Regions from separate parts of the Homo sapiens genome. Here regions 1, 3, 4, 5, 6 and 7 are each linked to region 2. Evidence: promoter capture Hi-C in human tissues and cell types (Jung and others, 2019). All regions are on one chromosome and are shown on one strand. Each heading gives the region's core, a stretch centred on a gene start or on the middle of the fragment in contact. The rest is flanking DNA. Distances are from core to core; before and after follow the strand shown. Region 1 overlaps ADK (adenosine kinase). Region 2 holds the start of COMTD1 (catechol-O-methyltransferase domain containing 1). Region 3 overlaps CAMK2G (calcium/calmodulin dependent protein kinase II gamma). Region 4 overlaps VCL (vinculin). Region 5 overlaps AP3M1 (adaptor related protein complex 3 subunit mu 1). Region 6 overlaps LRMDA (leucine rich melanocyte differentiation associated). Region 7 overlaps LRMDA (leucine rich melanocyte differentiation associated).

What was found. Contacts are between HindIII fragments. The study calls those that stand out against the background at their distance.
Region 1: a fragment that was not itself captured here is called in contact with the fragment with the promoter of COMTD1 in region 2 in 1 of the 25 tissues and cell types used here (pancreas).
Region 3: a contact is called between a fragment that was not itself captured here and the fragment with the promoter of COMTD1 in region 2, in 1 of the 25 tissues and cell types used here (dorsolateral prefrontal cortex).
Region 4: a fragment that was not itself captured here is called in contact with the fragment with the promoter of COMTD1 in region 2 in 1 of the 25 tissues and cell types used here (spleen).
Region 5: a contact is called between a fragment that was not itself captured here and the fragment with the promoter of COMTD1 in region 2, in 2 of the 25 tissues and cell types used here (dorsolateral prefrontal cortex and spleen).
Region 6: a fragment that was not itself captured here is called in contact with the fragment with the promoter of COMTD1 in region 2 in 1 of the 25 tissues and cell types used here (mesendoderm cells).
Region 7: a contact is called between a fragment that was not itself captured here and the fragment with the promoter of COMTD1 in region 2, in 1 of the 25 tissues and cell types used here (pancreas).

Annotation. Positions count from the first base shown.
Region 1 is chr10:74,157,943-74,160,780 of GRCh38, forward strand. The region is part of intron 1 of ADK (adenosine kinase); the gene reads left to right. Among named protein-coding and RNA genes, the nearest start is that of ADK, 8.1 kb to the left of the region's middle. The HindIII fragment of the contact is 5,336 bases long and covers 1-2,838 here.
Region 2 is chr10:75,234,649-75,237,371 of GRCh38, forward strand. It overlaps COMTD1 (catechol-O-methyltransferase domain containing 1), which reads right to left and starts at 1,309. Exons shown (of 7, transcript NM_144589.4): 1 at 1,187-1,309; 2 at 968-1,095; 3 at 619-724; 4 at 412-530; 5 at 290-344; 6 at 1-95. The coding sequence starts at 1,280. RefSeq lists silencers at 38-267, 428-717, 848-927, 1,088-1,227, 1,263-1,557. The HindIII fragment of the contact is 14,083 bases long and covers 1-2,723 here.
Region 3 is chr10:73,865,480-73,868,412 of GRCh38, forward strand. The region is part of intron 2 of CAMK2G (calcium/calmodulin dependent protein kinase II gamma); the gene reads right to left. Among named protein-coding and RNA genes, the nearest start is that of CAMK2G, 7.6 kb to the right of the region's middle. The HindIII fragment of the contact is 6,019 bases long and covers 1-2,933 here.
Region 4 is chr10:74,016,858-74,019,682 of GRCh38, forward strand. All of the region lies in intron 1 of VCL (vinculin), which reads left to right. Among named protein-coding and RNA genes, the nearest start is that of VCL, 20 kb to the left of the region's middle. The HindIII fragment of the contact is 3,564 bases long and covers 1-2,825 here.
Region 5 is chr10:74,136,943-74,139,925 of GRCh38, forward strand. It overlaps AP3M1 (adaptor related protein complex 3 subunit mu 1), which reads right to left. Exons shown (of 9, transcript NM_012095.6): 2 at 1,165-1,440. The coding sequence starts at 1,437. Among named protein-coding and RNA genes, the nearest start is that of AP3M1, 12 kb to the right of the region's middle. The HindIII fragment of the contact is 3,086 bases long and covers 1-2,903 here.
Region 6 is chr10:76,369,232-76,372,154 of GRCh38, forward strand. All of the region lies in intron 6 of LRMDA (leucine rich melanocyte differentiation associated), which reads left to right. Among named protein-coding and RNA genes, the nearest start is that of KCNMA1-AS1, 520 kb to the right of the region's middle. The HindIII fragment of the contact is 6,210 bases long and covers 1-2,923 here.
Region 7 is chr10:76,469,119-76,472,264 of GRCh38, forward strand. All of the region lies in intron 6 of LRMDA (leucine rich melanocyte differentiation associated), which reads left to right. Among named protein-coding and RNA genes, the nearest start is that of KCNMA1-AS1, 420 kb to the right of the region's middle. The HindIII fragment of the contact is 3,660 bases long and covers 1-3,146 here.

The DNA.
Region 1 (2,838 bases), core at 124-2,623, 1.1 Mb before region 2:
TGAATGGTGGAGAAGCCAGGTTGGAAGAGCTGATGGCTGAGAATTTACCAAAATTTAAGAAAGACCAGTTCTCAGCTTGAAAGGGCATTATATGTATCTAGTAAGATGGAAACAAAAATATAAACTAAAACTTCAGAGATTTTCTTGCTAATTATATTAATGTATCTATTATAGAAAGACTGAAAATTTAGACACTCCAAATTTAATAGTGGGCATCTTTAGGTGGAAGAATTATGAGGTTTAAAAAAAAACTTGTATTTTCCAATGTTTCTACACTGAACATATTAGGAATCTTGCTTTTAAGTTGGAGAGACTTGAAGTACACTGAATATATAAGTGGCCAAGTGCTGTGTGGCTAAATATTATCTTTACAGAATGGACCTCTGGGATACCAAATACCTCTGAAACTTGGTAACATAATTATTATGACTTTATTGTAGGCTATAATCTTTTAAGCTATATTTCTGAAATCCCAAAGCTCTGGAAGCTGGAAGTTTTTTAAAAAGTTTGAGATGAATTAATTTGGCAGCAAAATTTGAACTGATGTAAAGGTGTCAGTAGTATTTATTTGTCTGACACAAATGTATATGCTTTGCTATGGAAATATTAGGCTGTTAATGACATGCCACATGAATTCCTCCTGGGTGTTCTACAAAATATATAGTGCAGTGTTACCTTCCTAAAATCCATAAAATTCTGAATTCCAAAACATACCCTGCCCCAAGGATTTAAGAAAGGGTTTGTGGACTTTTATTACTTATTTATAGTTTACTTTTAAAAGTTGGCTACTGTGCAGGAACAATAATTTCTCATCAGAGTTAGTTCCTAGATTTTTTTCTCTAGTCACTGTTCTGCACTTCTATGATACTAAGTAGATGCTCATTTCAAAGATACTTTTTGGCTAGCTCTACTGTAATACCAGTACAGTTGATGTCACTGAGTTATTAGGCTTTTCTTCCTCTCCAGTAGTAACTGAAAAGACAGACTTCTCTTCAACTTTTGGACTTGAAGATTTGGAAGGCTGTTTTACAAAATGGTCTCCCAAACTGAAGTTTCACATACTGCTTGAAGAAGATACATTCTGATGATTTATCAAAGCAGATTTAGAGTTTTTGCTCTCATTTATGTGTATTATTTCTGATGTTGTTTGTACTTTTGGCTTCGTACCATTTCTTTAAAAATTTGGTTCATACACTTCAGATCTAGAAGCAATGTGATTAGCCTTTGATATAAGAACATCTGAGTTTCTATTTGCATTTTTACTTTCATTGCATGCATGCTGACTTTAGTATTTTCTTTACAATTTAGAAGATATATATGTATAGCAATTATGTAAGAAATTCTTGCCTTCTGTAGGCACAACAGTTTGGTTACTGTATTAACATGGTCTTAACCATTTTGTCAGCAAGCCACATTTGGTTAGTAGTGAGTCCTGCTATTTTACTATGTTACCTGCAAACAGGATTGCAGATGTGAAGGTAGCCTGTGTGATCATTGGTCACTCACTGAATTAGGGATTATCAGAAATTATATTGAAGTGGTCACTTGGCTACTTGCCTTCTACATGCTTAGGCTAGACTTTGGTTCATACTTAGAACCATTTTGAAATCTCTGAAAGACTCAGTTGACTCAACCTAACTGGAAAGTCCATCTAATTTTTTTTTTTTTGAGATGGAGTCTTGATCTGTCACCCAGGCTGGAGTGCGGTGGCACGATCTCAGCTCACTGCAACCTCCGCCTCCTGGGTTCAAGCAACTCTCCTGCCTCAGCCTCCCGAGCAGCTGGGATTACAGGCATGCACCACCATGCCCAGCTACTTTTTGTATTTTTAGTAGAGACAGGGTTTCACAATGTTGGCCAGGCTGGTCTCAAATGCCTGACCTCAGGTGATCCACCTGCCTTGGCCTCCCAACGTGCTGGGATTACAGGTGTGAGCCACAGCACCTGGCCTAAAGTCCATCTAAATATGACTCAATCTAGGAGTTCACCGCTTGTCTCTGTTGTCCTTTAGATTCAATTTATCTCTCACGTAGGCCATTTCAGTGTAACAAGATGGCAGTTCTCAACTCCAAGCCAAAATCTCATGAGTCCAAAGGAAGAGAGTTTTTCTATATGCTTGTATCAGTTTTGAGAGAAATTTGGTTCTGCCTGTGTTACACACTACCTTGAACCAGTTGAGGTAGGAGGTGGGGCTCAGACACTGGACCAAATTGAGGACTAGCTAAAACAGGGACAGAGTGGAATCAGCTTTCCGTAAGTCACACCTACTAATGTGCCATGTCAGTTTCCCATTGCCACGGCAACACCCAGAAGTTAGCGTCCCTTTTCATGACAGTGTCCTGGAAGTTACCACCCTTTTCCTAGAAATTTCTGCATAATCTGCCTCTTAATTTGTATATAATTAAAATTGGGTATAAATATGACCACAGAACTGCTTCTGAGCTGCTACTCTGGGCATACTGCCTATGGGGTAGCCCTGCTCTGCAAGGGGCAGTACCTCTGCCGATGCTTTACACTGCTGCTTCAATAAAAGTTGCTGACACACCACTGGCTGACCCTTGAATTTTTTCCTGGATGAAGCCAAGCACCGTCCTGGGCTAAGCCCCAGTTCTGGGGCTTACCTGCCCTGCATTACAATCACTGTATCAGAGGTGGAGATTTGGGCTGGCCTTGGATACATTCTCACTGTCTGCCCGTCTGTTGTGTGCGTGCATGCAGGTAGGGGTGTGTGCGTGCATGCAGGTAGGGGTGTGTGTGTGTGTGTGTGTGTGTGTGTATGTGTGTGTGTAGGTAGTACTAGGTATATGGGGAGCCAGTGAGTGTAGGCATTGTTCGTAT
Region 2 (2,723 bases), core at 59-2,558:
CAGGCAGCGCTCGTAGTAGGCGGAGCAGTTCTCCTTGTCCGCATCCACCACGGCCACGTCGAAGGTGCCGGCCTCGCCCGCCGCCAGCAGCTCGTCTTGCGGGGGGAGGGAGGGCAGGTGCGGCTGAGTCCGCGGCCCCGGCGGCCCTGAGGCCCCTCCCAGGCCGGCCCGGGCTCTGTGACAACCGGCCCTGCCCTTAACCTGCCCGGCAGGCCCAGTCACAGCTCGGCCACACAGCAGCCTCGTTTGCAATGAATGGCTTCAAAGCCCTTCCCGCTTCGGTGCTCACCCAGGGTCTCCAAGGCGGGCTTCAGCCGGAGGTCGATCTTGTGCTCCGCCTCGGCCTGCGGAGGGAGCGGGTCAGCCGTTGCGCCCCCGCCTGGGGCTGCAGAGCTAGGCGCGGGCGCTCACCTGCCTCCACAGGGGCCGTCCCAGCTCCGGGGGCTGCGCGTCCACCTCGCAGGTCACCACGCGCCCGTCCGCGGGCAGCGCCAGGGCCAGGGCCAGGGCGGAGTAGCCCGTGAAGGTGCCTGGGACCAGGACACAGACGGGCTCAGCCCAGAGTGGGGGTCGGCCCGGAAACCTCGGCCCTCCGGGATCCCGGCCGCGTGCCCCTACCCAGGTCCAGCGCCTTCTTGGCCTGGATGAGCCGCGCCAGGTTGGCCAAGAGCTGGGCCTGCTCGCAGGTCATCATAGAATCCCCCTGCGGCTGCTCCAGGGTCAGCTGCGTGAAAGGAGAGGGTGGCACCAGCCATGCAGGTCACCCACCTTCGCCCTGGGGGTCCCAAGCCCCAGGGGCGCGGTTCTGGGCGTGGCCTGGGGGACTGGCCCTTCGGAACGCCCACCGCACCCGGCCCAGGGAAGCCGGAAGCCCAGGGAGGGCCAGGGCCCAGCCCAAGGTCACACAGCCACGTGGGACCCGCAGGGGTCGAGAGGGACGCCCGTTTCCGTCCCGCGCCCTGCTGACCAGCCTCAGGCTTCGCAGCGCCGGGTGCTCCCGCATGGAGCGGCTCAGAAGATACTGCCACAGGCGGCTGTCCTCGGGGGGAAGCAGGCACTGCTCTCGCCGGCCTCGCCATGGGGGGCACCGCCTCCCTGACGGGGAGAGGGTGTTGGATTAACCTGAGCCACGCCGCGCCCTACTCTGCGCCCGCCCACCCGCCCGCCGGGACCAGGTCCTGCTCACCCAGGAAGAGGCCAGTGGCGAAGGCGGCGCCCAGTGCGGCTGAGCCCAGGGCCAGCGCGGCGGGCACGGAGAGCCGGGGCACCGGCTGGGTCATGGCGCGGGCAGGAGGCGGCGGGAGGCAGTGACAGGTCACGTGAGCTGGAGCTCCTGGGACAGGTCTCGGACTCGCGGGCCCGCCGGGCTCCACCTTGTCGGGGCACTACCCGCGGAGCCGCGGTCTCGGGCATCATCTGGCGGCCACACAGCCTTACTGCAAGCCCCGCCCGAGAGAGCCGGGCGCGATCTGGTGGCCGCGCCGGGAACTGCGCCCCTGCGGGGAGCAGGCCAAGCGCCTAGATCTGAATTTTCCCGCCTGTGCCCGCAGTCCAGGTGCCTGCCTCCATTCCCCTCCTGCCAATGCTTTTTTCTCCTCGCCACCATTTATTCTGAGGCCCCTTGGGGGCATATGTGAATTGTGTATGGAGGGCGCCAGTGTAAGTTACAAGATAGTCACAAGTACAAGAGATAGAGATTAAAGGGGGAAGGCCTCCTGGACAAGATGCCCCAAAGCATCAGGCTGAAGGAGTGAGGGAACTGGTTTGAGGGCATGCAGCCTCGAATTGGGGTTCAGGAGCCCTGGGGTGGGCCTGTGGAACTGAGACCATATTCTTAGCTGTTAAAATCCTGCTTTTGGGGGCCAGATGGATACGAGTGTCTAATCTTGGTCCTGCCAGTCTCTCTGAGCCTCAGTTTCCTTCCTGTAAAATGAGGCCTACAATCTTACCATAAAAGGCACCAGATCCCACAGCTTCGCACACAGTAGCACAATACATAAGTGGCAGCTGCTGTTATGTTGGTAGGTTGGAATGAAGACATCTTGGGGAGAAAGCCGGTGAAGCTCCCTTGCAAGGTTGTTCTGTTGAAACACTGTCCAGAGAACACTGATTGAACCCCTACCATGCGCCAAACTCCGGAGGAGGTGAAAGACGCTGACGCTGTCCTTTTTTTTTTTTTTTTTGAGACTGAGTCTCGCTCTGTCACCCAGGCTGGAGTGCAGTGGCACAATCTGGTCTCACTGCAACCTCCACCTCCTGATTCAAGCGATTCTCCTGCCTCAGACTCTGGAGTAGCTGGGACTACAGGCACGCACCCCTACACCCAACTAATTTTTGTATTTTTTGTAGAGACGGGTTTTGCTATTTTGGCCAGGCTGGTGTCAGACTCCTGGCCTCAAGTGATCTGTTTGCCTCGTCCTTCCAAAGTGCTGGGATTACAGGCCTGAGCCATTGTGCCTGGCGTTGGTGTTCTTTTTTTTTTTTTTGGCAAGGTCTCTGGCAAGGCTGAAGTGCAGTGGCAAGATTACTGCTTATTGCAGCATCGAGCTCCCAGGCTCAGCAATCCTCTTGCCTCAGCCTCCCAAGTAGCTGGGACCACAGGCGGTCACCACTGTGCCCAGCTAATTTAAAAAAAAAAATTTTTTTTTTAAAGAGAAGGGGTCTTACTATGTTGTCCAGGCTGGTCTCGAACTCCTGGCTTTAAGTGATCCTCCTGCCTCAGC
Region 3 (2,933 bases), core at 245-2,744, 1.4 Mb before region 2:
CTCCAGCTGTTGTCTCCTGTCTCTTCCCCTGACACTTCCTGTCCTGTAGTCACATCCAGGGCTGGCCCACGGCTGCAAAAAAGCAGAGGGTCCATCCCAGCAGCAGTGGCAGCAGAGGGGTTCCAGGATGGAGTAGTGGTTTCTAGAGCATCTTTCCCAAAAGCAAGGGCATCCCAGCTGGACGCAGCATCTCCAACCCCAAAAAGGGCGAGGCCACTGAATGGGCTTGGTCCACAGTGGGAGGGCCCTGGCTCGGCATCTCAAGGTGCTGCAAAGGTGTCTCCCCTTGAGACACCCCTCCTTCCAGTAACCACTAGGGAGAGGCTCAGACCTTCCAAGGTGGACCCTCCTCCACGCACCTTTCTACCAGGCTCATCCCCGCCCCTCCCACAGCCCAGCCCCCCCCTTCCTGTTTGACAACTGCCACTTCCCGCTTTTGCACAGGGCCACTTCCTGCCTGCCTGTGTGCTACTGCCATGGAGAGACCCACCCCTGCCGGCCTTCAGCCCAGCTCCAACCACAGCCCTCTGCAGGTTTTCCCCATCATTAGCAGAGGTGGCAACAGGAGCAGAAAGCAGAAGCAGCTCCAGCCTTTCCCCAGCAGCCTGCCTAGACCAGAGTGGTCTGAGCCCAGGCCAGAGCCAGGCCCTGGGAAACAAGGATCCTAGAAACCCAACCTCTCCCGCCTTCTGCCCAAGTGCTTCAGGACTTGGTCCAAGGTGCCACGATTTCACAGGAAGGGCAGCAAGAAGTGACCAGATGCACCAGGGGAGGCAGAAAAGAGGAAGCAGATAGGGAGGTGATAGCTTGCAGCCAAGGGGTGCACCAAGCCTGCCCCTGAACCACCTCCCCCTCTGGCCTGAAGACAGAAGCCTACTCCAATGCCCTTTCCTTCCTCTGCCAGGTCAGGGGGCCAGGGAGGGCTGGCCACAGATTCTCCATGGCCCTCTCAGGGATGGGCCTGCTTGACTTAGTGACATTTTCCTAAAAAAAAAACACAAATGCCAGCACTAGCTTCAAATAAGATCCTGCTGCCACGTAAACATACAATCCTCTGTACGTGGGAAAGGATGCACATTCCTACTCTGACTGAGGACTCTCCCAAGTTCCAATCTCAAAGACATTCTTAACTTTGTAAAGGGTATTTTGCAGGTCTGTGCCTATGACCCTAAACATGGATGTGAGAAACTTCCTGCAACCCCACTGATTTCAGGGCTCCATGGGAGGCGGCCTCACTTGCTGCCCTCCTGAGTGCCTTTCATCTTCTTCCCAAGCAGCAGAGGCCGCCGTCTGGTCCCCTTGGCACTCTGAGGAGCAGAAACAAGGACATCGCAGGGATTTGATGTCATAATCCACCTTCCCCAGCTGCTTATGCACAGCCCTGGGCCTGGGACACTGACCAGTGGGAATCCCAAGCCACGATCCCACCGACCTCACCCTGACACTGTGATGCCACATCCCTTCCTCTTTGAATCTCACTCTAAAGATGCAAAGAGTCTCCAATTAAAAGCAAAGTCCATCCGACACACAAGAGCAGGACCATGGTTTCTAATGCCCTCACACATGTACACCTGGTGACTAGCTGGGGGCTGTGATACAGAGGGACGGGGCCTGAAATGGTCCCATGTGAACCCCCAAGGCTCTGTGCATGTACCCAGCATCCTCCCCTTATCTTCAACCCTCACTCAAGCAGTTTTAACTTGGTGACACAAAGACCTGAGCCCCACTTTGGCCTCTGGATCTCAAGGCAAGGGAAGCGAGAGGCTCCAAGAAATGCCCTATAGCGAAAAGGCCCTCAATCAGCTTTGACAGAGAAAATCCCCAAGGGGTCACTAGCAAGCCCCAAGAAGGCAAGGCTCTGCCTGGGGGCACTCTGGCTGCTCTCAAGGGCCAGAAAAGGGTCAGCCGTCTGTTCTCCATGCCCCCCGGCAGGGCTCCCGGTGCCTGCAGCCTTTGCCCACTGTTTTGGTGACATTTCCTTCATGGTAACCAGCCCCAAGTAAAACATCCCAGGAAGCAGCCCCTAAAAATAGCTCCTCCCAGGGCAGCAGCAAGCAGGGGGGAAGGGAAAGAAAGGGAGGAGAAAAGAGGGGAGCAGATGGGAAGCTGCGGCTGCTGCTGATAGGGCCCAGGAAGCGGAGATGGTGTTGGGGAGGAGTGGCTGGAAATCTCCCCACCGCACAGCCCAGAGAGGTGGGTACAGACGGGAATGGGGCCTCAGCCAGCAACGAGGAGGGATTTGCTCCACCAGGCTTGGAGCTTGGGGCCTAGATGGAGAGGTGTGAGGTGATATGCCAAGATTCATCACAGGAACAAAGTATCCAGAACCTGTGTTTTAAAGAAAGGCGCCAAGGAGTGGGTGGAGGCCACACGGCCTGAGGACGCTGGGTCTGAGCCCTGGCAAAGTCATGGGCACCTGCAGCACAAAACCAAAAAAGAAAAAAAAGACCCCAGACAAAGCTTTTGTGCTTTGATTTCCCCAGCGGTCCTGCGGCAGATCTGTCTGGCCATGGGTAGGTGACAAAGGGGCTCTGCAGAGAGGCATTCAAGAGGTGCAAAGTGCCCATCTCCTCCTGTCACCACCCTTTTGGCACCCATGGGATCAGGCCCTTGTTGGTCTGCCAAAGCTGTTCAGAGAGCAGCAAGCATACAGATGGGAGCAGGAATGGTCACACCCAGCCTCCCCTTCCCTATCTCCAGTCTCAGCAGAGAATGGGGTCAGCCACTCACCTCTAGGGTTTCAGCACAGCTTCGAACAAGGGTATGGTGACAAGGGACCAGAGGAAGCAGCAGGAAGAAGGCAGGGGCCTCCCTGACAGGACAGGGCAACCTTCCCACCTCCATCCCCACACCATGATGCAGCACCCCAAGTCACTCTAGGAAGACAGGTGGGAGGGGAGGGGGACAGGCCAGTGTTGTGTGTGCTAAGGCCC
Region 4 (2,825 bases), core at 257-2,756, 1.2 Mb before region 2:
CTGTGAATTTGACTACTCTATGTAAGTGGAATCATACAGTGTTTGTATATACTGTATAACATATAGTATATGATATGCTCTATATAAGTGAAATCATATAGTATTTGTCCTTTTGTGATTGGCTTATTTCACTTAGAATAATGTCTTCAAGGTTCATCCAAGTTGTAGCATATGTCAGAATTTCCTTCCTTTTTTTTTTTTTTTTTTTGAGACGGAGTCTCGCTCTGTCGCCCAGGCTGGAGTGCAGTGGCGGGATCTCGGCTCACTGCAAGCTCCGCCTCCCGGGTTCACGCCATTCTCCTGCCTCAGCCTCCCAAGTAGCTGGGACTACAGGCGCCCGCCACTACGCCCGGCTAATTTTTTGTATTTTTAGTAGAGACGGGGTTTCACCGTTTTAGCCGGGATGGTCTCGATCTCCTGACCTCGTGATCCGCCCGCCTCGGCCTCCCAAAGTGCTGGGATTACAGGCGTGAGCCACCGCGCCCGGCCTCCTTCCTTTTTAAGGCTGAATTATATTCCATTGTATGTGCATACCACATTTGTTTACCCATTCATCCATTGATGGACATTTGGATTGCTTCCACCTTTTGGCTATTGTGAATAATGCTGCTATTTCATCATATGTTTAATATCTTAAGAGGCCTGAACTCTGTCTCTGAAGGGTGTAAGCTGCTGCTGCTGCTTTTTCTTTCTTTCTTTCTTTTTTTTTTTTTGAGACAGGGTCTGGTTTTGTTGCCCAGGCTGGAGTGCAGTGGTATGATCTCAGCTCACTACAACCTCAACCTCCCAGGCTCAAGCCATCCTCCCACCTCAGCCTCCCAAGTAGCTGGGACTACTACAGGTGCATGCCACCATGTCTGGCTAATTTTTGTGTGTATGTGTATATATTATACACATACAATTTTATTATACTTAAAATTGTCATTTCTTGTTGTTCTTGTTGTTTTTCTTGGAGTATAGAAACTATAAGAGCTTAATACCAGAGCGAGAATAGCAAGGCACCTTTAAAATCTGGTGAAGGCTGGGTAAGGTGGCTCATGCCTGTAATCCCAGCACTTTGGGAGGCTGAGGCAGGCAGATTGCTTGAGCGTAGAAGTCCGAGACCAGCCTGGGCAACATGACGAAACTCCTTCTCTACAAAAAGTATAAAAATTAACTAGGCGTGGTGGTGTATGCCTGTAGTCCCAGCTACTTGGGAGGCTGAGGTGGGAGGATTGCTTGAGCTGGAGATCGTGCCACTGCCCTCTAGCCTGGGCAACAGAGCGAGACTCTGTCTCAAAAAGAAAAAAAAATCTGGTAAAATGTGAGGATATATATAGGATATATATATATATATATATATATAAATACATATATATATGTGTATTATTTTATTTTATTTTATAGAATGGGGTTTTACCATGTTGCTCAGGCTGGTCTTGAACTCCTGGGCTCATGTGATCTACCTGCCTTGGCCTCCCAAAGTGCTAGGATTACAGGTGTAAGCCACCGTGCCCAGCTGGAATGTAAGCTTCTGACGGACTTGGGCTAGGACTGTGAACTTAGCCTCTGATGCCAAGGAGCAAACATGGAATGAAAGCAGGCCAAAGGCCCTTTTGCATAATATGGCAGTAAGGCAGGAAGGGAAGTTCATTCCACTTTAGAGAGGCAGTGTTTGAAGCATGAGGAAGTTTGCCAGCCAGAGAAAATGGGAATACCTTCTGTGCAGAGTGAATACAAAGATACAAGGGTGTGAATGTGCAGTTAGGGAATGGGGAAGCTTTAGTAATGAGACTGTTAAGGTGGATTGTGTCCCTTGTGAAGGGACTCAGACGACATAAATCAGTTAAAAAAAACAAAACTAACTTCAGTTTTTGAATAGGTATAGGATTCACCTGGTTCAAAATTTAAAAGGTAAAGGTATACAGTGAAAAGTCTCCCTTTCCCCCTTGAACTCCAGCCACCCAGTTTCCCTCCTCATAGGAAACCGATGCACTTAAGAAACCCAATGTCTTGGATATGCTTCTAGAGATAGTTTGTGCACAATCTGGCAGTAACTAGTCCCCTTTCATACAAATGAAGACCTGTTATACTGTCTTGTCCTGTTTCTTGATTTTTTTTTCATCCTTTGCATGTTTTGGGGAACATTTCTTGCTTGTATCTACAGAACTTTCTCTTCTTTTGACAGTTAAATAATAGTCCCTTGATGGTTGTAGATAATTTATTAAACTAGACCCTTATGGAAGGTTATTTGTGATCTGTTGCTGTTTCAGACAACATGGCAAAGAATGACACAAATATGTCAGTTTACGTATGTGCAAGTACATTTACAGGATAATTTCTAGAAGAGGAACATACTAAGCATTGGATGTTAGAAAACAGAGAAATCTTGTATTATTATTATTTTTACTTTATTTTACTTTAAGTTCTGGGATACACATGCAGAACATGCAGGTTTGTTACATAGGTATACATGTGCCATGGTGGTTTGCTACACCTATCAACTCATCATCTAGGTTTTAAGCCCCGCATGCATTAGGTATTTGTCCTAATGCTCTCCCTCCCCTTGTCCCCCATCCCCCTACAGGCCCCAGTGTGTGATGTTCCCCTCCCGAAACAGAGGTGTTTAAGCTGATGTATAAAATTTTGGTAAAATAATCCTGGTAGTATTGAGGAAGATAGATTGGAGCGCTGGTGAGACACTGGGGTTGGAGAGCCATCCATTCAAGCAAGAGGTAGTAAGAGCTGCCTTCAGGCAGTGGTAGGAGTGCAGATAGAGAAAAGACACATCTGCAGCATGTGTAGAGTACAAGAGGGAGAGGGAGGAAAAAGAAAAGATAAATTCT
Region 5 (2,983 bases), core at 111-2,610, 1.1 Mb before region 2:
AAAAAACCCTCTATAGTCCGGGCATGGTGGCCCATGCCTGTAATCCCAGCAATTTGGGAGGCTGAGGCGGATGCATCACTTGAGGTCAGGAATTCAAGACCAGCCTGGCCAACATGGTGAAACCCTGTCTCTACTAAAAATACAAAAATTAGCTGAGTGTGATGGTGCACACCTGTGGTCCCAGCTACTTGGGAGGCTGAGGCGGGAGGATTGCTTGAACCCGGGAGGCGGAGGTTGCGGTGAGCCAAGATCATGCTACTGCACTCCAGCCTAGGGAACAGAGTGAGACTCCGTCTCAAACAAAACAAAACAAAACAAAACAAAACAAGCAAACAAAAAAAACCCCTCTATAGTCCTAATATTATTCCTCAATATTTTCTTGATATTTCTAGGTTGAATTTAATTCCTATTACATATTATACCAGAAAGTATTGAAACATTAAATTGGAATTTGAGCTATAAACTTCATTCACCCTGATTATCCCAAAATACATATAGATAAGCTTAAATTATTTGGTATATTCCGCAAGACAAAATAATAAAATGTAAATATAGAAGAGTTCATAACCAATGAAAATCTTGAGACCATTGAGAGAACTGTATGCGGAGGGCATTATTGTTTCCTGATGATATACAGTCATCCCTTGGTATTTGTGGGAATTAGTTCCAGGATCCCCTGTAGATACCAAAGTTCACAATTCTCAAGTCGCTGACATAAAATGGCATAGTATTTGCACATAACTTATACACATCCTCCTATATACTTTAAATCACCTCTAGATTACTTGTAATATCTAACACAGTGTAAATGCTATGTAACTATTTGTTATACTGTATTGTTCAAGTAATAATGAGAAGAAGTTTGTACATGTTCAGTTCGATTTTTTTGTTCAAATATTTGCCATGTAAGGTTGGGTGACTTTATGGATGCAGAACCCATGTATATGGAGAGCCAACTGTAATCTGTAATACATATAAAAAATAGTGAATAGAGCAGCCATGTGTGTAACTGTATACCACACAGAAAAGGGCTTATGAATTTACGCTTAAACAGAGAGAGACAGACAGTAAACATCAAAACCTGGGTAATTAAATAATATAATCATGTCTCACCTTCAGCTAACTTGGGTCATTTAACTTAGAAAGGTATGATAGATAACCAACCTGAAAAGTGTCAGCAACTCGATGTAGGAACTCAATTACAAAGAGAGGTGGCACTTCGGTCTGTATGACAGATACAAAGAAGAGCTTATCCCGGTAGATACTGATGAGGTAGTGGTGAGGTGTTGAAATGACAGGTGGTACATTTTCAACATCAGCAGCTTTCTCTTGAGCTTCAAAGAAATAATCACAGACAGACTGGCTCACAACGCTCTTCCAGTGCTTCTCTAGAAATATGTCACCGGAACAGTTTATGAGAAATAGACTGTGGATCATTTTCTGTTGGGGCAAAGAAAGGTTTAAATTTATTATACATTAAATATCATTTAACATACACAAAAAGATTATACACCTTGACCAAGTGGGATTTATTCTAAGAATGCAAGGCTGGTTCAACATACAAAAATCAATCAACATGATATACAATAAGAACTAAAACAATCATTTCAAAAGGTGCAGAAATTGCATTTGACAAAATCCAACATCCTTTTACGAAAAAAAAAAAAAAAAAAGAAAGCCATTTAAGAACAAAAAGAAACTTCCTCAGCCAGGCTCAGTGGCACATGCCTGTAATCTCAGCACTTTGGGAGGCTGAGGTGGGCGGATTGCTTGAGCTCAGGAGTTTGAGACCAGCCTGGGCAACAGGGCAAAACATCATCTTTACAAAAAATACAAAAATTAGCCAAGCATGGTGGCACTTGCCTGTAGTCCTAGGTACTCAGGAGGATGAAGCAGGAGAATTGCTTGAGCCCAGGAGGAAGATCGACGCTGTAGAGAGCTAAGATTGCGCCACTGCACTCCAGCCTGGGTGACCAAGTGAGACACTATCTAAAAAAAAAAAAAAAAAAAAAAAAAATTTCCTTAACCTGATGAAAACCCCACAGCTAATATTATATTTAAAGGTGAAAGACCGAACACTTTCTCCTTAATAACAAAACCTAACAAGGATGCCCAGTCCCATCATTTCTATTCAACATGGTACTAGAGGTTTGAACCAGGGCAATTAAGCAAGAAAATAAAACAAAAGGCTTCCAAATTGGAAAGGAAGAAGTAAAACTGTATCTGTAGAAGATACAATCTTATATATAGAAAATCCTAAGGAATCCACACACACACAAAAAAAAACCTATTAGAGCTAATAAATTTAGTTCAGCAAGCTTGCAGGACACAAGTCAATATAAAAATCAATTATATTTCTATCCACTATAGCTATAAAATACTAAAAATGGGCTAGGCATTGTAACTCATGCCTATAAACCCAGCACTGTGGGAGGCTGAGGAAGGAGGATTGCTTGAGCTCAGGAGTTTAAGACCAGCCTATGCAACATAGTGAGACCTCATCTCTATTAAAAAAAAAAAAACAAAACAAAACTGAAAATGAAATAAAACAATTTCAGGCCGGGCGTGGTGGCTCATGCCTATAATCCCAGCACTTGGGGAGGCCGAGGCAGGTGGATCACCTGAGGTCGGGAGTTCAAGACCAGCCTGGCCAACGTGCAGAAACTCTGTCTCTACTAAAAAAAAAAAAAAAAGGCCAGGCGCGGTGGCTCACGCCTGTAATCCCAACACTTTGGGAGGCCGAGGTGGGTGGATCACGAGGTCAGGAGATCGAGACCATCCTGGCTAAGACGGTGAAACCCCGTCCCTACTAAAATTAGCCAGGCGTGGTGGCACGCACCTGTAGTCCCAGCTACTCAGGAGGCTGAGGCAGAAGAATCGCTTGAACCCGGGAGGCGGAGGTTGCAGTGAGCCGAGACTCAAGATTGCACCACTGTACTCCAGCCTGGGTGACAGATTGAGACTCCATCTCAAAAAAAAAAAA
Region 6 (2,923 bases), core at 16-2,515, 1.1 Mb after region 2:
AAGTTCTGTTTTGATGTGCTTCCAGGATTTGGTTCAAGATTTTGAGCTCCTTTTATCAGTTCTTGTTGTGGTAGTTTGGTAATGGTGAGTTCTCTCAGCATTTGTTTGAAAACAACTGTATCTTTCCTTCATATATGATGCTTAGTTTCACTAGATACAAAATTCTTGCCTGATAATTGTTTTGTTTGAGGAGCCTGAAGATAGGTCCCCAATCCCTTCTAGCTTGTAGGGTTTCTGCTGAGAAATCTGCTGTTAATCTGATAGGTTTTCCTTTATAGGTTACCTGGTGCTTCTGTCTCATAGCTCTTAAGATTCTTTCCTTCATCTTAAATTTGGATAACCTGATGACAATGTTCTTAGGCAGAGATCTTTTTGTGATTAATTTCCCAGGTGTTCTTTTGCTTCTTGTATTTGGCTGTCTAGGTCTCTTGCAAGGCCGGGAGAGTTTGCTTTGATTATTCCCCTAAATCTGTTTTCCAGGGAAAACCTGGACATTTAAATGCTAGTTTAACATGGAGCAGAGGACTCCATTTTTGTAAAATGCTGCAACCTGGGAATTTCCTTTCATAATTTTGATAGACATATGGCACTTCTGGTTGAGAACTGGGCCTATAGCAGTGGCTTAACTTAAGGGTTCCATAGATCCTTGCCTTGGTTCAACATATCCCATCTACGAGATGACAAATGTTTGATTGAAGAAGTATTGAAGAGTATTTGGAAATGTAGACAAATAACAGTATCTGGAGCTTGCAGCACAGTGGGAAATGGAGCCAAGACTGTACCTATAATTTAGGGTAAGGAGCAATAATGAGGTCCCATAAAAATAAAAAACCATGATGTTAAATAGACTGCAGATCATTTGCACCTTGAGGCTTTTCTTAGATTTTATGCCAGCAAAAAAAGTAGTAATAGGGCTTGTGCTTTATGCCAAAAGAATTCCTCGTACACAAGATTTTATTTGCTTTAGTGTAATCAAAGAGACCCTCCCCCTAAAATTATATAAGGGTAAAAAAAAACAAAACAAACAAACAAAAAACCCATCCAGCTATAAAGAGCTGCCAGCCTGGGTTTGGAGCATGGCTTTAATCCTCTGTGCCTGGGGTCATATTGTTTTTATCTTGCTTTTGACTCTATTTCAAAGCTGATGTTGCTATCTACAAACCTTACCTAACAGCTATAATTATTTCATTTGTATTCACTATGAAGTCCTTTCCAATCATGTTAGAGAAATGGATTCCAGTGTTTGCAAGTGACCCCTTATCCTGTCTTTTAAAGAAAATAGCATATATTGTAGGCTCCCCTTATCTGCATTTTTGCTTTCCACAGTTTCAGTTACCCACGATCAACTGCAGTCCAAAAATAAGATATTTTGTGAGAGAGAGAAAGACTATATTCGTATAACTTTTATTATAGTATATTGTTATCATTGTTCTATTTTATTATTATTATTGTAAATCTCTTACCGTGCCTAATTTATAAATTAAACTTAACATAGGTCTGAATGTATAGGAAAAACATAGTATACATACTATATATAGTAAGTGGAGAGCACACCAAATGTATATCATTTTTGTACTGTAGTAAATTTGAAAAATTGTAGGTCAACCCATTATAAGTTGAGGATGGAAGGTCTGTCTATAGGGTTCAGTATTACATGTGGTTTCAGGCATCCATTAGTGGTCCTGATGTGTCCTCTACAGACAAAGGGGGACTACTGTAAGTTTGTAAAACCACTGAACAAGGAGTTTCAAATGTGATAAAATATTAAAATGGGACTCTTCAAGTTCAGCTGAAGCCACAATTAATAGGAATCAACTGGTCGCACATTCCAAGATGAGATGCTAGATCACCCCAGCAGGACCTGCAAGAGTTCTAAAATTTGGATCGTGTCATTGCCTGAGCTTTCAGACATTAGATAAGTCAAGTCAGATTTGATCCTTAGTTTTTTCCTTTGTCAAGTGGGAACAGTTATTGCTACCCAGTGACCTTGTAGGGATGTGTCAATTGAGATGCTGGACCTGAAGATGCCATGAAAATTCGAGGTAGTGGTTCTCTTTCTCCTTCTTGCAGTGGGGTTTTGGGTCACAAAATGACAGGATTGTCCTCAGATACTTTATAGAAAGCCATTGGTGCTGTTAACACAGTATGAGTTTAGTGTTTCATTTTGGAGTCAAACACACTTTATTTTTTTTTCTCACAACTGCTTCTGTGAATCTACTTGCAGGGCTAGATCTTCTGCCCTGGAATCATATCCTAGCTAGTGCTCAGAGCCTGCCACTCACTCTTTGGTAGTAATAACTCCTCTCATTGGTTACCTGAGTTTCCAAACAGTGTTGGTTATGCTATAAATAAGTATAGTCTAGGGTAATAATCAAAACTCTGAAATTCATCCATGGGTAATGCATCTTCTGGCACCATCAAGAGCTTGCTACAGGGGGAGAAGTGGGCTGAGTAACTTCTTTCTCCTTTATTCTTCCATATGCTAGGTGAGTTGGATAGGGGAAGAGAAGAGAAGTAGGAGCCAGGATCAAATTTGCTTGGCTGGTCCCAACCTGGTATTGATTTGCTTTTCTACTGGCAGATGCTTAAGACTGGCCTTTCTTCTCTGAAAGCTGTTTCATGATTTGGACGCTTATCACTAGGGTCCTCTTTTTTGTGGGTGATTCTCTTTTGATGATAAATGAATCATCTAGGGACTTCTCTCTGCTGAGGTCTCCTTGCCTCTAACAAGGCAAGGTCCAAGACTAGCTCAGGGTGCTTTGTCTTGTACTTGGCACTTACCTCCTCCCTGGAAATATGGATCTTTGACCTAAAAGTGTTGTATAGTTATGTCCCCAAATTGAATCTGTTTTGTTTAGCCACCTAGTGAGCAGCTTTAGCCATAGTCTTTCTTTCACTCATTAACTTTCTTAGACTTATGTAA
Region 7 (3,146 bases), core at 462-2,961, 1.2 Mb after region 2:
GTGGCACTTAAACCATGACCTGTTCCTTTCCTCCTCCCCGCAGCTTACTTTGAAGGAAGCTCTCTATTACAGGTAGGTGTGGCTAAGAAGGTGGGGCTCCCTTGCCCCTCATCTCCCAATCAAGGGATATGGCATCTTACCCAGAAGAGCAGGCTGCCAACATTTCTTATTCCCTCCGACTCTGAGATGCAGAAGTTAAGTTCCTGGTGAGGTCAGCCAAGAAGTCAGAGACTACTGTTCTCTGCCCACTCCCCCCAACTCAAATGTGGCAGTTCTACCACAGGTGAAGCTAACTGAGAACACTTGGGCCCTCATCATTCTTGCTCAAGAATGATGGGGTGGAGGGTCCACACTGGGAGAGGCAAGCTGAGAAGACTGGAGAGTGTCATATCTGCCTCAGTCTCTGGAGCAGTGGCTTGGAGGTTTTTCTCAGTGGGAGAGCAGTCCATAAATACATAGAGCTCTGAAGCTCTGAAGCTCTCCTTAGGGGAACTGTCTTTGAAACAGAGTGAGGGAAGTTCAAGGCTAAGGGTACTTTCTTCCATAATGAAGATTTTGGTGGTAATTAAGAGGAGACTAATAACTCCATGAGAGCAAAAACTTACACCAGAGGCAAGCAAGTTTACTAGAGAGAACCATGGAAACAGATAGCTAAGAACTCTCCTGGGTTCACAAAAAACCTAAAGGACTAGCCTCAAAAACTTCCCCTACCCATGTACAATTCAGTGGCATCTATAACATTCACAGTATTGTGCAATCATCACCACTATCTCTTTCCAAAACACTGTCATCATCCCAAGAAGAAACTCTAGAATGATTAAACCAACAACTTCCCATCCCTTCTCCCCTATGATCATGGATTAACAATTAGCTTTCATTAGAAACAATGGAGACCAGAAACCAATAGGATGGCATAATCAAAGTGCTGGAAAAAAAATAAAAAAACTATCAAGCAACAATCTTATATCCAGCAAAACTCTCTTTCAAATATGAAGGTGAAATAAAGACATTTCTAAGTAAACAAAAACTGAGAAGCTTTATTTGCTAGCAGACTTCCTTTACAAGAAATACTAAGGGAAGTAATACAGGCTGAAAGCAGTACACCCCAGACATTAATTCAAAACCACACGAATAAACAAAAAGCACCAGTAAAGGTAATTATATAATAATAAAAAGATAGTATAAATACATATTCTCCTTTCTGCCCTTAACTAATTTAAAAAGCAATTGTACGTAAGCATGGAATTACCATATAATCTAGCATTTTTTACTTCTAGGTATACACCCCAAAGAACTGAAAACAAGAACTCAAACAGATACTTGTACACCTATGTTCATAGCAGCCTTATTCACATGGACAAAAGGTAGAAACAACCCAAATGTCCATCAAGGGATTAATGGATAAAAAATGTTGGATATACGTACAATGTAATAGTATTCAGCCATAAAAAGGAATGATGTACTGATATATAATACAATATAGTTGGGAAAAGATTATTCTAAGTGAAATAAGCTAGACTCAAAAGGATAAATATTATAGGAATCCACTTAATTGAGGTATCTAAAATAGGCAAATACATAGAGACAGAAAGCAGAATAGAATAGAGGTTAACAAGGACTGGTAGCAGAAGGGAAGAGTGAGGACTTGCCAGGGAGAGAAGAGTAGGCAGTTATAGTTTAATAGGTACAGAATTGCTTTTGGGAAAATAAAAATATTCTGGAAATGTATACTGGTAATGGTTACACAAAATTTTAAATGTACCTAACACCACTGAATTATGCACAATAATGACAAAAATGGTAAATTTTGTTATGCACGTTAACCACAATAAAAATAATTAACTCTAAAAAAGCAATTATATAAAATAATATGTATGTAATTATATTATTGGGCTTATATGTAAATGTAATATATTTGACAGTAACAGCACAATGGAGATGGGTGGGAGGAAACCTGTATTGGTGTAAGGAAATGGCGCCAGATGGTAACCCAAATCTATAGGAACAAATGAAAAGAATCAGAAATGATAAATAGAAAGGGAAATATAACAAGCTCTATGAATATATGCTTACTCTCTTCTATTCTCTTAGCTTCTTTAATAGACATAAAATTATATAAATAATAAAATGTATTGGTAGGTTTGTAATATATTTAAATATAATGTGTATAACAATATTAGCACAAAAGGAGGAAGATGGAACAGAGCTATATAGGTGCAATTTTAAAATTTTTTGTGAAATTAAGTTAGCATATATCTGAAAGAGATTCTGATGAGTTAACCACTAATAAAATCTAATAAAATAACTCAAAATATAGCGAAAAATTATTAAAGAAATTATATTACACTAGAAATATTCACTTAAAGCAAAAGGAAGCAGTAAAGAAGGAACAGGGAAGCAAACACACATGGGGCATATAGGAAACAACTGAAATGGAATATGTAAATCCTATATAAATAATAATATCAAATATAAATGGATTAAGCAACTGAATCAATAGTCAGAGATTTTCAGAATGGATAAAAAAACAAAATCCAACTATAGGTTGTTTATAAAACACACACTTTAGATTCAAAGATACAGATAGTTTGAAAGTAAAAGAATTGAAAAGATGTATCATGCAAACAACAACAATAAGAAAATTGGAGTGGCTATACGAATAGCAGAAAAAAATAGACTTTAAGACAGAAAAAGTTACTAGAGTAAAAGAGGACATTTTGTGATGATAAAAGTGTCAATTTGTCAGGTATGTAAAACAATCATAAACATATAGACATGGCTACATAGCCACAGAGCCCCAAAATACACGAAGGAAAAACTGACAGACCAGAAGGGAAAAATAAGCTTTCAACAATAATAGTTGTAGTGTTCAATACCCCACTCTTAATAACAGATAGAACAACTAGACAAAATATCAAGGAAATAGAAGACTTGGACAACACTATAAACCAACTTGACCTACCAGACATCTGTAGACCTTCCACCCAGCAACATCAGAATGCACACTCTTCTCAAGAACATGGAATAGTCTCTAGGATAGACCATATATTAGGCCATAAAACAAGCCTCAATAAATTTAACTGGGTAAATCATGCAGAGTGTGTTCTCTGATAACAATAGAGTGAAAATAAAAATTAATAAATTTG